3 separate regions of the Homo sapiens genome follow, and regions 1 and 2 are each linked to region 3. The links are contacts of gene promoters, found by promoter capture Hi-C in blood cells and fetal thymus (Javierre and others, 2016). All regions are on one chromosome and are shown on one strand. The core of a region is centred on a gene start or on the middle of the fragment in contact, and the rest is flanking DNA. Distances in the headings are between cores, read along the strand shown. Region 1 overlaps SLC41A2 (solute carrier family 41 member 2). Region 2 overlaps SLC41A2 (solute carrier family 41 member 2). Region 3 holds the start of TXNRD1 (thioredoxin reductase 1).

Evidence for each region. Contacts are between HindIII fragments. The CHiCAGO score rates a contact against its expected background, and 5 or more counts as called.
Region 1: a contact is called between a fragment that was not itself captured here and the fragment with the promoter of TXNRD1 in region 3, in 9 of 17 cell types (naive CD4 T cells, activated CD4 T cells, endothelial precursors and 6 more). The highest score is 7.5, in naive CD4 T cells.
Region 2: a fragment that was not itself captured here is called in contact with the fragment with the promoter of TXNRD1 in region 3 in 13 of 17 cell types (erythroblasts, activated CD4 T cells, M2 macrophages and 10 more); the score reaches 10.0 in erythroblasts.

The regions. Positions count from the first base shown.
Region 1 is chr12:104,868,524-104,871,909 of GRCh38, reverse strand. All of the region lies in intron 6 of SLC41A2 (solute carrier family 41 member 2), which reads left to right. Among named protein-coding and RNA genes, the nearest start is that of SLC41A2, 88 kb to the left of the region's middle. The HindIII fragment of the contact is 3,851 bases long and covers 60-3,386 here.
Region 2 is chr12:104,885,084-104,888,337 of GRCh38, reverse strand. SLC41A2 (solute carrier family 41 member 2) reads left to right here. Exons shown (of 11, transcript NM_001352171.3): 6 at 1,899-2,045. Among named protein-coding and RNA genes, the nearest start is that of SLC41A2, 72 kb to the left of the region's middle. The HindIII fragment of the contact is 2,045 bases long and covers 411-2,455 here.
Region 3 is chr12:104,213,971-104,217,376 of GRCh38, reverse strand. It overlaps TXNRD1 (thioredoxin reductase 1), which reads right to left and starts at 1,598. Exons shown (of 17, transcript NM_001093771.3): 1 at 1,484-1,598. The coding sequence starts at 1,574. RefSeq lists enhancers at 590-1,205, 1,206-1,822 and a silencer at 1,646-1,735. The HindIII fragment of the contact is 5,942 bases long and covers 1-3,322 here.

The DNA.
Region 1 (3,386 bases), core at 736-3,235, 650 kb before region 3:
GGCTGGTCATTATAGCTTTTTCTATAAATGTTATACCTTCTCTTATGAGGATATAAGCTTCTTAAGGACAAAACTGCGTTCTTATTTTATTTCTTTGTAGCACCCTATAGTGCCATATACAAAACAGATGTTTAATAAACAGTACTTCACCAAATGCTTTATTCCTTTTGAAAGCACTCCAATTAACGTGATTAGAAGTTATTCAGAATGATTTTGGCACAGTAATTGTCCAATAACATAATAGATTGTAACAAAAAATCATTTTGATGAGGATATAGTATTGGGGAAATATTGGAAGGATATCTTAGCAGAAAGTATCTGGGAATTAGTACCACTATAGAAAAATAAAAATGGCAACACATGGCTAGAAAAGATCTATTTCAAATGGAAATAGAAAGTTCAGAGAGTAATCTAAGCTCTGGATTCTGATATACTTTTGTGTGGCTTGCAGGGACAATATAAAGGCATTTATACATTCGTATAGTAATCTTTAAACATACAGTAATCTTTAAAAGCTATTAACAAGATTCAACATTGGGCCAGTAACTGGAATATATATATGTTCACATGATTGTTGCTCCTTTCTTTCTGTTTGCATAAGTTCCAAGAAGATTTAAAAAATTCTTTTTCACATATTTATAACTGCATGGCTATCTAATTCTTGTGTGTACATGATATTTATTGATTTGAAAAAATTATTAGATATTCTCTTTGTAGGCGAGATCTGAGAGGCAAAATGTTGATTGATTTTTCATTTTTCAAGATTAACTTTAAACAGATGGCTTAGCTGAAGCTGTAAGAGCAGTAGCAATTAGCCTCAGGTTACTGCATTCCTATGGAGACTAACAAGGATGCCACCTGGTTATTTACAGACCATTCTAGAATATCTCTGCCTTAATGTGGTGGTGTGAGTAGAATCTAAATTTATCTTGAATGTCTCTATGCTTGAGGGATTTTTAGCACAGTACCATCTTAGGTTAGAGTGATTTCTAGAGTATCAGTTCCCTCAGAAAATTTAGATCAATTATTAAGGGGCATTTAGAAAAAAATCACAACTTACAGTGCCCATTGCTTTGTTGTTTACATAGAAACAGCTAATACATAAAAATTGTCAATCATAACAGCTACATGTTTCAGAAGAATTTGGGGTGAGAATGATGAACACTATTAATGAAATGATATAACAGCAGTTGGGAAATGCCGTCAACAATATAAAATGTGAAAACTGGATCACAAAAGATGCTAGTTATGTTTGCCAGTTAGGAGGCATCAGAGCGATTTGAACCACTTTAGCTGTGTTAATCTTTACTTTTCCGTAGTTTGCCTATATCACAGAGTCAGTATTAATGTATAATGGACATTTATTAGGCTTAAAATTCCAAGAAGTTTTAAATATGCATGTATTAGTTATCTATTGCCATTGTAACAAATTAGCACAAACCTTGTGGCTTAAGACAATAGAAATGTTTTTTGGGTTTTTTTGTTTGTTTTGTTTTTACAGTTCTGGAAACCAGAACAATTACAATTAAGTATAAATTCAAAATGAGTTATATAGGAATAAAATCAAGGTGTCATCAGGATTGGATCCTTCTGGTCTTGGGGAGAATCTGTTCCTTGCCTCTTCCATCTTCTGGCAGCTGCCTGCCGGTGTTCTCGGCTGGTAGCTGTATGACTCCAATCTCTGTTTCTGTGGTCACATTGCTTTCTTCTCTTCTGCAGCCACATCTGCTCCTGCCTCCCTCCTATACCTGCAATTATATTTAGGGGTCACACAAATAATCCAGGATAATATTCCCATCCCAAAATTCTTGACTTAATCATTTCTACAAAGCCCCTTTTGCCGTATAAGGTAGCATTCACAGGTCCTGTGAATTATTACTAGATTTTATTCATCCTACCCTAATACCCATTATGATATACCCAGATTTTAATACAAAATATTATTTTAACCAGGATCTTTTAAATGTGTTTCATTTAGAAGGAAGATGATTTTACATTTTAATATTAATGTGGAAGTTCATAGTTGGCCTTTAATTGACTATTTGCTCTGTTGATTGTGTCATTGGTGGTTTTCTAAAAGTAATTCTTTAATTTTATGACATCTATAAAACACCAGTATATCCAAAAAAGAGAAATGTTTGTAGCATCTCTTTTTATATATTTGTAATTTTCCCTACCTATCAAAATTGGATTAGAAGTTAGCCAGGAATAAGTTAGGAGGGTCCTATAGAATTATCCATATGGTCTAATTTGGTGGGAATGGGCATGTTGGATTTGGCAGGTAATTGAAGTAGAATACATTTACAGTAAACATTTGGAAATTTGGGTTTTATCATGGTTTTCCCACCTTTTTAACATTTAACAAACTTTTATTTGAAGATAATTATATGTTTATAGAATAGTTGCAAAAATCAAAACAGTACAAAAAAAACCCCTGCATACTCTTTATCTGGATTCACCTAAGGTTAACATTTTACCCCATTTGCTTTATCTTTTGTTCTCTCTCTTTGTCTATGTACGTGTGTATATCCTTTGTCTTTAATGACAGACATTTTTGAAGAATGTAGTCCTCCTTCCTGTTTTCCCCTCTGTGAGGATTTTTAAAAATTGGATGTAATTCACATGCCATGTAATTCACTTTTTTAAAGTATACAATTCAGTGGTTTTTGGCATATTCATAAGGTTGTACAAGGATCACCGTGATCTAATTCCAGAACATTTTCATCACCTCAAACAGAAACGCTGGGCCTGACATGGTGGCTCATGCCTGTAATCCCAGCACTTTGGGAGGCTGAGATGGGAGGATCACTTGAGCCCAGGGATTTGAGGCTGCACTGAGCCAAGATTATGCCACTGCACGCCATCCTTGGTGACAAAGTGAGACCCTATCTGTAAACAAAACAGAATACTTTAGCAGTTATTCCTCATCCCACCCCTCCTCTAACAATCACCAATCTACCTTCTCTTCGGATTTGCCTATTCTGGGCTTGTATGTAAAAGTAATCATTTGATATGTGACCTTTTGAGTCTGGCATCTTTCACTTAGCATAATGTTTTCAAGGTTCATCACGTTGTCACATGCATCATTTTTGAATCATATGAAGTGCAGAGTAACATCCAATTGTATGGATTAATGAAATGGCCAAGTAATAGTCCATTTATGGATATACTAAGTTTTGTTTATCTATTCACCATTTGATGAACATTTAGGTTGCTTCTACTTTTTGGCCATTATGCATAGTGCTGCTATGAACATTCAAGTTTTTATGTAATGTACAAGTTTTTATGTAAATATGTTTTCCATTCTGTTGGGTGTACATGAAGGAGTAGAATTGCTGGGTCAAGTTAAACTCTGTTTAACTTTTTAAGGAACTGCCTGCTCATTA
Region 2 (3,254 bases), core at 184-2,683, 670 kb before region 3:
TTGTCATGTTAGGTGATCATACAATGCAGCTAACTTTTTTGGCTAGGTTCTGGGAATTTAGGGAATCTTATTAAAATTATAACTCGATTTCCAAAATATTTTCAAGCATTTTGTTTTAGTAGTTTAATTGTATCGGGGTAGTTTCTTGTCTTCATAAAGAATTACTATAGTTGAATGGAGTTAACATTGACCAAAGCAGAGTGAAGTTAAGCTATTGGAAAATTAAATTGTTGGTACAAAAATAATTATGCCATCAGCATGCTATTTTTTTAGGCTCATTTGCTTCTTTTTTCTTTCTGATTTTATTTCATTTAGAAAGTGTCATTTAAAATTTTTCAGTCTAACAAGTATTTGAAAGCTTTTCAAAACTATCCAAAATTCAGAATTTTAAAAAGTATTTGTTTAAAGCTTCTGACTTTGAATAATGTGTGTTCTAATTTTATGATAACTTGACCTTTATAAGCACTTTAGTATATGTAAAGTAGAAACTCTTAGCCATATTTGTAGGTGAGAAAACTTAGGTAAGGTGACTTGTCCAATCTCATCAACTTGTTACCAGCTGAATCAGAACTAAAACACGTTTCCTAACTCTTAGCTCTTTCCACTGGACTATGATACATACAAAATATTTGTTTTCAGTTGAAAAGATATAGATGGTACTATGTGTAGGAGAACTTCCCATATACATCTTCAAATGTGCTGATTTTGGAAAAAGATTCTAAGCGATTACATCTTGCCTGATTATTGCATAATGTATTTTTTTTAAAAAGTTTTCTGCTATAGCTTTTTTTCTTTTTCAATGATATTATGGGAAAGGTAAGTCTAGTAATTTAAAAAGCCTCCAGAATACTAAAATATAAGGCACTGTTTGATGCAAGACAAAAATTCTGCTTATTAAAATTTTGGCTTTAATAGGTAGAGTAAAAAACACTGGGCTAGAGTCACAAGCTATGTGACTTTAGGCAAGAATTTAAGCCCTACTCTACAGGACCTCAGTTTTATTATCTATAAAGTGAGTATGCTGGAACAAAAACATTTAGAGTCATTTTAACTCTAAAAGTGCTGTGAGATTCTGTTACTGTTTTTCTCCATAGCCATATTTAGGCTTTCATATTGATTTGTGGTTAGCACATTTAAAGTTTTCTCTTTACTACATCCTCTTAATGAGTATCTTGGTGTGACAAAATCTACACAATTTAGAGTGGATATAAATGTTAATAGTTTTATCCCATTTGTATAATTTAAGAAAATTAGGATGTAAAAGTACAAGTACACAGTTAAATTTTCATCTTCTATTCTCTCGTAGGTTTATAGACAGAAACTTCAGGTTTAAAGAATATCTTTTACAAAGACTGTTTCTTGTATTCTGGCCTTCAGTGTTTTAAAATTTAATTATGTCCTGCTGCTTAATACTTCAACGTCTTTAAGTAATAAAATGAAATAAGCATTTCTAGCTGCCATATGTAAACAAATCTGGTTTTGTTGGCCTTCTTCCCAGTTGTTGTACATATACATATGACTCACCTTTTTTTTTGATGTTTTCATACTTTATTTGAGGGTTAAAATTAAAACCTTTGGATTCAATACACACAAATACATTATATCTAAGATATACATGTCACTAAATCTGAAATTTTAGCTTTACCATAATTTTAGTAGCTTTCAGGCCTCTAAATACAATGCTGAACTTCTTAAATTTTCTATGATCCCCACTTGGAGTTTGTTGAAAGGCATTTTGCCAAAGCGTTAGAGTAAATGTTTTGTTTGCTTTAGTCAGCTTATCTAAGCAGTCTAACTGGAATTGATATGCTGTTTTTCTATCCTACACATTTTGGTATTTGGGGGATTGATTTTCTTTAAATCATAGCCTAAAAAGTAATGAACATTCTTTCTTCTAGGAATAATAATGGTTGGGGTTATCGTTGGTTCAAAGAAGACTGGTATAAATCCTGATAATGTTGCTACACCCATTGCTGCTAGTTTTGGCGACCTTATAACTCTTGCCATATTGGCTTGGATAAGTCAGGGCTTATACTCCTGTCTTGGTAAGTTGATTTAAAACTAAATATTGTGTGTTGTCTCAAGTCTCTTTAAATAAATATTGTTGCAGCAATGCCATGAATCCATGGTAGCCTTCATTTGCATTAGAACTGCTGTTGAGACTGATTAGGATAACTATCATTTGTTTTATACCTACTATGTGTTATGATTCCCACTTTCTTTTTTCTCGTAGAGTTTAAAACTCTGTAAAATAAGGATTATCATCTCTAATTTTAGATGAGAAAAGCAAGGATCATAGAAGTTATGTATGTTACCCAAGTTTATATAACTACTAGTAAAAAAGTTGAACACAGGCTTATCATATTTTGTGATTTCTGTCCTTTCCTGTAAGTGTACAGCAGCTAGGAGTCAACCTGCAGTGTTCTCTGTATAGAACCATCTCAGAATATAAGCTTATAAGTGGTACTTAAAATTTACCAATGGAATGTTTTTCCCCATCAGAAACCCACACCAATAAGTAGCTTCATGGCAGTTAACAAAAGGGAAAAAAAAATCACCACAAAAATTAGACTGAATGCTGTATAAAGTTGGAGCCATATATGTAATTCCTGATAAATAGTGATAGAGTATTTATGGAATCTAATGAGTTGTTTTAATGCAAATTTGTGTTCTGGAAATGGTAAATACATATGATTTGTGAGTGTTGATGACATGCTAAAAGTTCATTGTGGTTTTATTATTTTTAGATGCCAAATTAAGGAAAACAGAAACTTACAGTAATACAAGAAAAAAACATGAGTATATAAGCCAAGCCAGAGGCAAACATTTATTCACAAATCCTCACATATGTTCATGGATTCTATACAGATTTATGGTGTACTTTAAAATAAATCTAAAGCATGTTTCGTTTTAAGAAGTAAGGGTCTCAGATATATGTTCTTGAAATAAAGAAAGGGCTTTAACCAACCAAAGGCAATAATTTTCTGTGACTTTTGGAGACATCAAGGAAGCTTCACTTAGCATATAAAATTGCCTTAAGTTATTTAGTGAGTGGCATAAAAACAATATTTAATAAGACTTGGTGTGTATGTTCAAGGAATATTTCTCTCATTTAGAAGATAAGGTTGCATCCACTTTAAGTGAGGTATAAGACAAGAAATGATCAATGGCCTAAATGTAAGCTCTTGTTCCCAAAGGTCTTGGCTTTTTTATGTTGTTGTGCAATTTGCAAAGAATGATACATGTTTAAGTAT
Region 3 (3,406 bases), core at 349-2,848:
ATGGCGCCATTGCACCCCAGCCTGGGCAACGAGAGCGAAACTAAAAAAAAAAAAAAAACAAAATTGTTAAGATGGTAAATTTTTTTTTTTTAACCACACACAAAAAGAATGTAGCTAAAGAAAAACAGTAAATAAATGGAAGGACATAGATATCAAGAAGATCCTGAGGATGGCACATGAAACGTCAATTTGGGATGCACCTGCTCAAACTCCTTCATTGTACTAATGGCCACAAATTAGCTGCCTGACCTGGACCTTGCCTGACCTTGCTCCTACCCTGTTCCTTTATTCTTCCCTTCCCCTAATCCAAGTCCTTAACTCCAGCAGGATATACAGGCCTCCCTATCTCTAGCATGGTCTCACCGGCTGCTTCCCCTAACAAGAATGTTCTCCCTTCAGACACCTCTACCAAATCCTACCTCATCTATGGGAGCTGCCATCCCCACTTGGCTGTTTTTACCACTCCTTTTAGCCCTTCACCATATGCTGCCTTGTAACTAAACTGTAAGCCTTTGAAAGAGGCAGATCCTACAGCATTTAATAATTCTAGCCATTGGGCAAGGCACTTTTTGGAGCCTCACTTTCTCAAGCCTATAAAAAAGGTGGAGGCGGCCATATGACTATGACCAGGGCTTTTGAGTCAGATGGCCTCAACTGGTATCCCAGCTCTTCCACTTACTAGTTGTGTGCTTTGGGTAAGTTTTATAACCTCTTTGCTTCTCAGTTTCTTCATCTGTATAATGGGGTTTATGATAAATCTCTCAGTATGGCTGGAAACATGAACCAAGATTATTACCCATGTCTAGTGCTTCCAAAGGCCCCTCTCATGTCAGTGCTTAGTAACCACTAGCCATTATTGGCATTATCCGGACAATGGAGAAGAGACTGGGAGCTTTCTCTTCTGGAAGAACAAGTGAAAGGATAAAGCGGGATGATGGTGGGAGAAATGTGCCCAAAATTCAAGGGGATGGAGAAAGGGGGCCGGGAAGGCGTGTCGGACAAGATTCTCGATGGAGGAGGATGCTGGGAGTGGGCCGGGGGCTTCTGGAGAGGTGAAGGGGCACCCCCGGACTCGGCTGTCGGTTTGGTCGCTTCCCCCGTAACCTTTCATTGGAAACACGGTGCTTGTAGGAAGAGGACGCCCTAACGGGCCCTGAGCGAAATCAGGCGGGTCGCTGCCGAGATCTCGGTTCGGTTTCCGACAGGTTTCCGGGCAGGTCCTCGCGGCGGGCCCGCTCCTCCTTCCACCTCCCACCTCTCTCACAGCCAGCGGGCGGGGCAGCCCTCGGCCGGCCGCCGGCCTCCGTCTCCCGGGGTGACCTGGGGGAGCGTTTCTGGGGTCTCCAGCGTGGCGCGCGGTCAGTCACTGACTCCAGTGAGGGGCTTCAAGGCCAGGGCTCCGGGGCACTTTATCCCCAACCCCGGCCGGAAGGCCCGCTTCGGCCCGTCGACCTGGGGACCAGGCCTTCGCCCTCGGTCGTACCTGACCTACGGCGGCCATCGCCGTTCTTGCCTTTCGTCTGCAGCTCCGTTGGGGCGGCCGCCGCCACTGCCTTGCCCTCGGCGCAGCCCATGTCGCACAAGGCCCTGTGGGAACTGACGGAGCCGAAGGACGCCTGGCGGAGGCCGCGAGCCCCCTGCCGGCCGCGGGTCGGAGAACGCGGTGGGCGGGGCGCTCGGTGACAACAGCGAAGTCATAGCCCGTGTATCTTCTTCAAGGTCGTGAATTTTTTTTTTTTAACAGGAAAGAACGGTCGCTAAAGGTAAATTGGAAAATGCAGAAATGGAAAGGAGAAAAGAGCGCACCACCCAAAATCCTTATCCTTCGGCTGGGCGCGGTGGCTTACACCTGTGCACTTTGGGAGGCCGAGGTGGGAGGATTGATCGCTTGAGCCCAGGAGTTTGAGACCATCCTGGGCAATGTAGAGAAACCCTGTTTCTACAAAAAATAATTTTAAAAAATTTATCCTTCACACAAACTACTTTTGCTGTGTTTACTATTTCTTTCCAGTTTTTCCCCTCTATGCATAGTTTTGCATCCAGCATTTCACTTAATACTAGTATTTTCCATACTATCACATAGTCTTGTAAGCCTCCCAGATAACCACCTGGCTTCCACTGTCACTTCAGTCTTTGCCTCTTTGACCGTAGATGAAGCATACACTGAACATCGTAGTTTCTTTTTAATACACTTTATTTTTTAGAGCAGTCTTTTTTTTTTTTTTTTTTTGAGACGGAGTCTCACTCTGTCACCCAGGCTGGAGTGCAGTGGCGCGATCTCAGCCCACTGCAACCTCTGCCTCCCAAGTTCAAGCGATTCTCCTGCCTCAGCCTCCCGAGTAGCTGGGACTACAGGCGTGTGCCACCATGCCCAGCTAATTTTTTGTATTTTTAGTAGAGACGGGGTTTCACCGTGTTAGGCAGGATGGTCTCGATCTCCTGACCTTGTGATCCGCCCGCCTCGGCCTCCCAAAGTGCTGGGATTACAGGCGTCAGCCACTGCGCCTGGCCTTAGAGCAGTCTTAAGTTCACAGCAAAAAGACCATCCTATTTGAACAGAAATCTGATCACGCCCCCCTCAACTCTACCCCCACCCTTTACTTTACTCTATTTTATTTTTACCAGCACTGAGAGCCTTCTAACTTACCCTATATTCTCTGTCACCTGCTCCCACTCCCTCCGCCAGCCTCCCCACGACACCCTGCCCATGTAAACGCTGCCAAAATAGAACCTTTGCATTTTTTTCTTGTATCTTGGCCTTCAGCTTGGGCCAGGTGGCCTCCCCCACCTCTTGAAGGAAAGCAGGGAAGAAGCGGGAAAATATTAATTTGAATAATTATAATAATGTAATAGTCCATCCACTAGAGCTACTGGACGATTACATAGCCTATTATTAGATGTTTAGTTTGTTTTTTATTTTTAAAAATTATGAATAAGGCTGCAGGGAACATCTTTGTGTTTATAGTTTTAAGGCTGTCATTACACGTTGCCAAAATTGCTTTTTTGGAACTGTGGTTCCCATTTGAACTCCTACTAGTAATGAATGAGAGTGATTTTTTTTAACACCAAACCACATTGCGGCACATCAGGTGCACAGTCACTGTTCTCTATCAGTGCAGTGCTCTGTTTTTCCTTCTTTCAATTAACTAACATATGGTAAGCATCCAACTTATGCCTGGCTTTGTTTAGGGTTACAAGGTGACTCAAATTCCCTGGTCTCAAGGAACTTCCACCCCAGCTGAGATTTAGTGAACTTGTCTGGTCACCAGATGCGTGGCAATTGTGTGGGCCCTTTGTTTTCATTTGGGTTTGTGGACAAGCTTATATCCTGCTTCTCTGGAGAGCAGCCCAGAGTCAAAATGCTCTTGGAAAACACTGGGTGTTTATTTGCTTAAACACAGAAAAC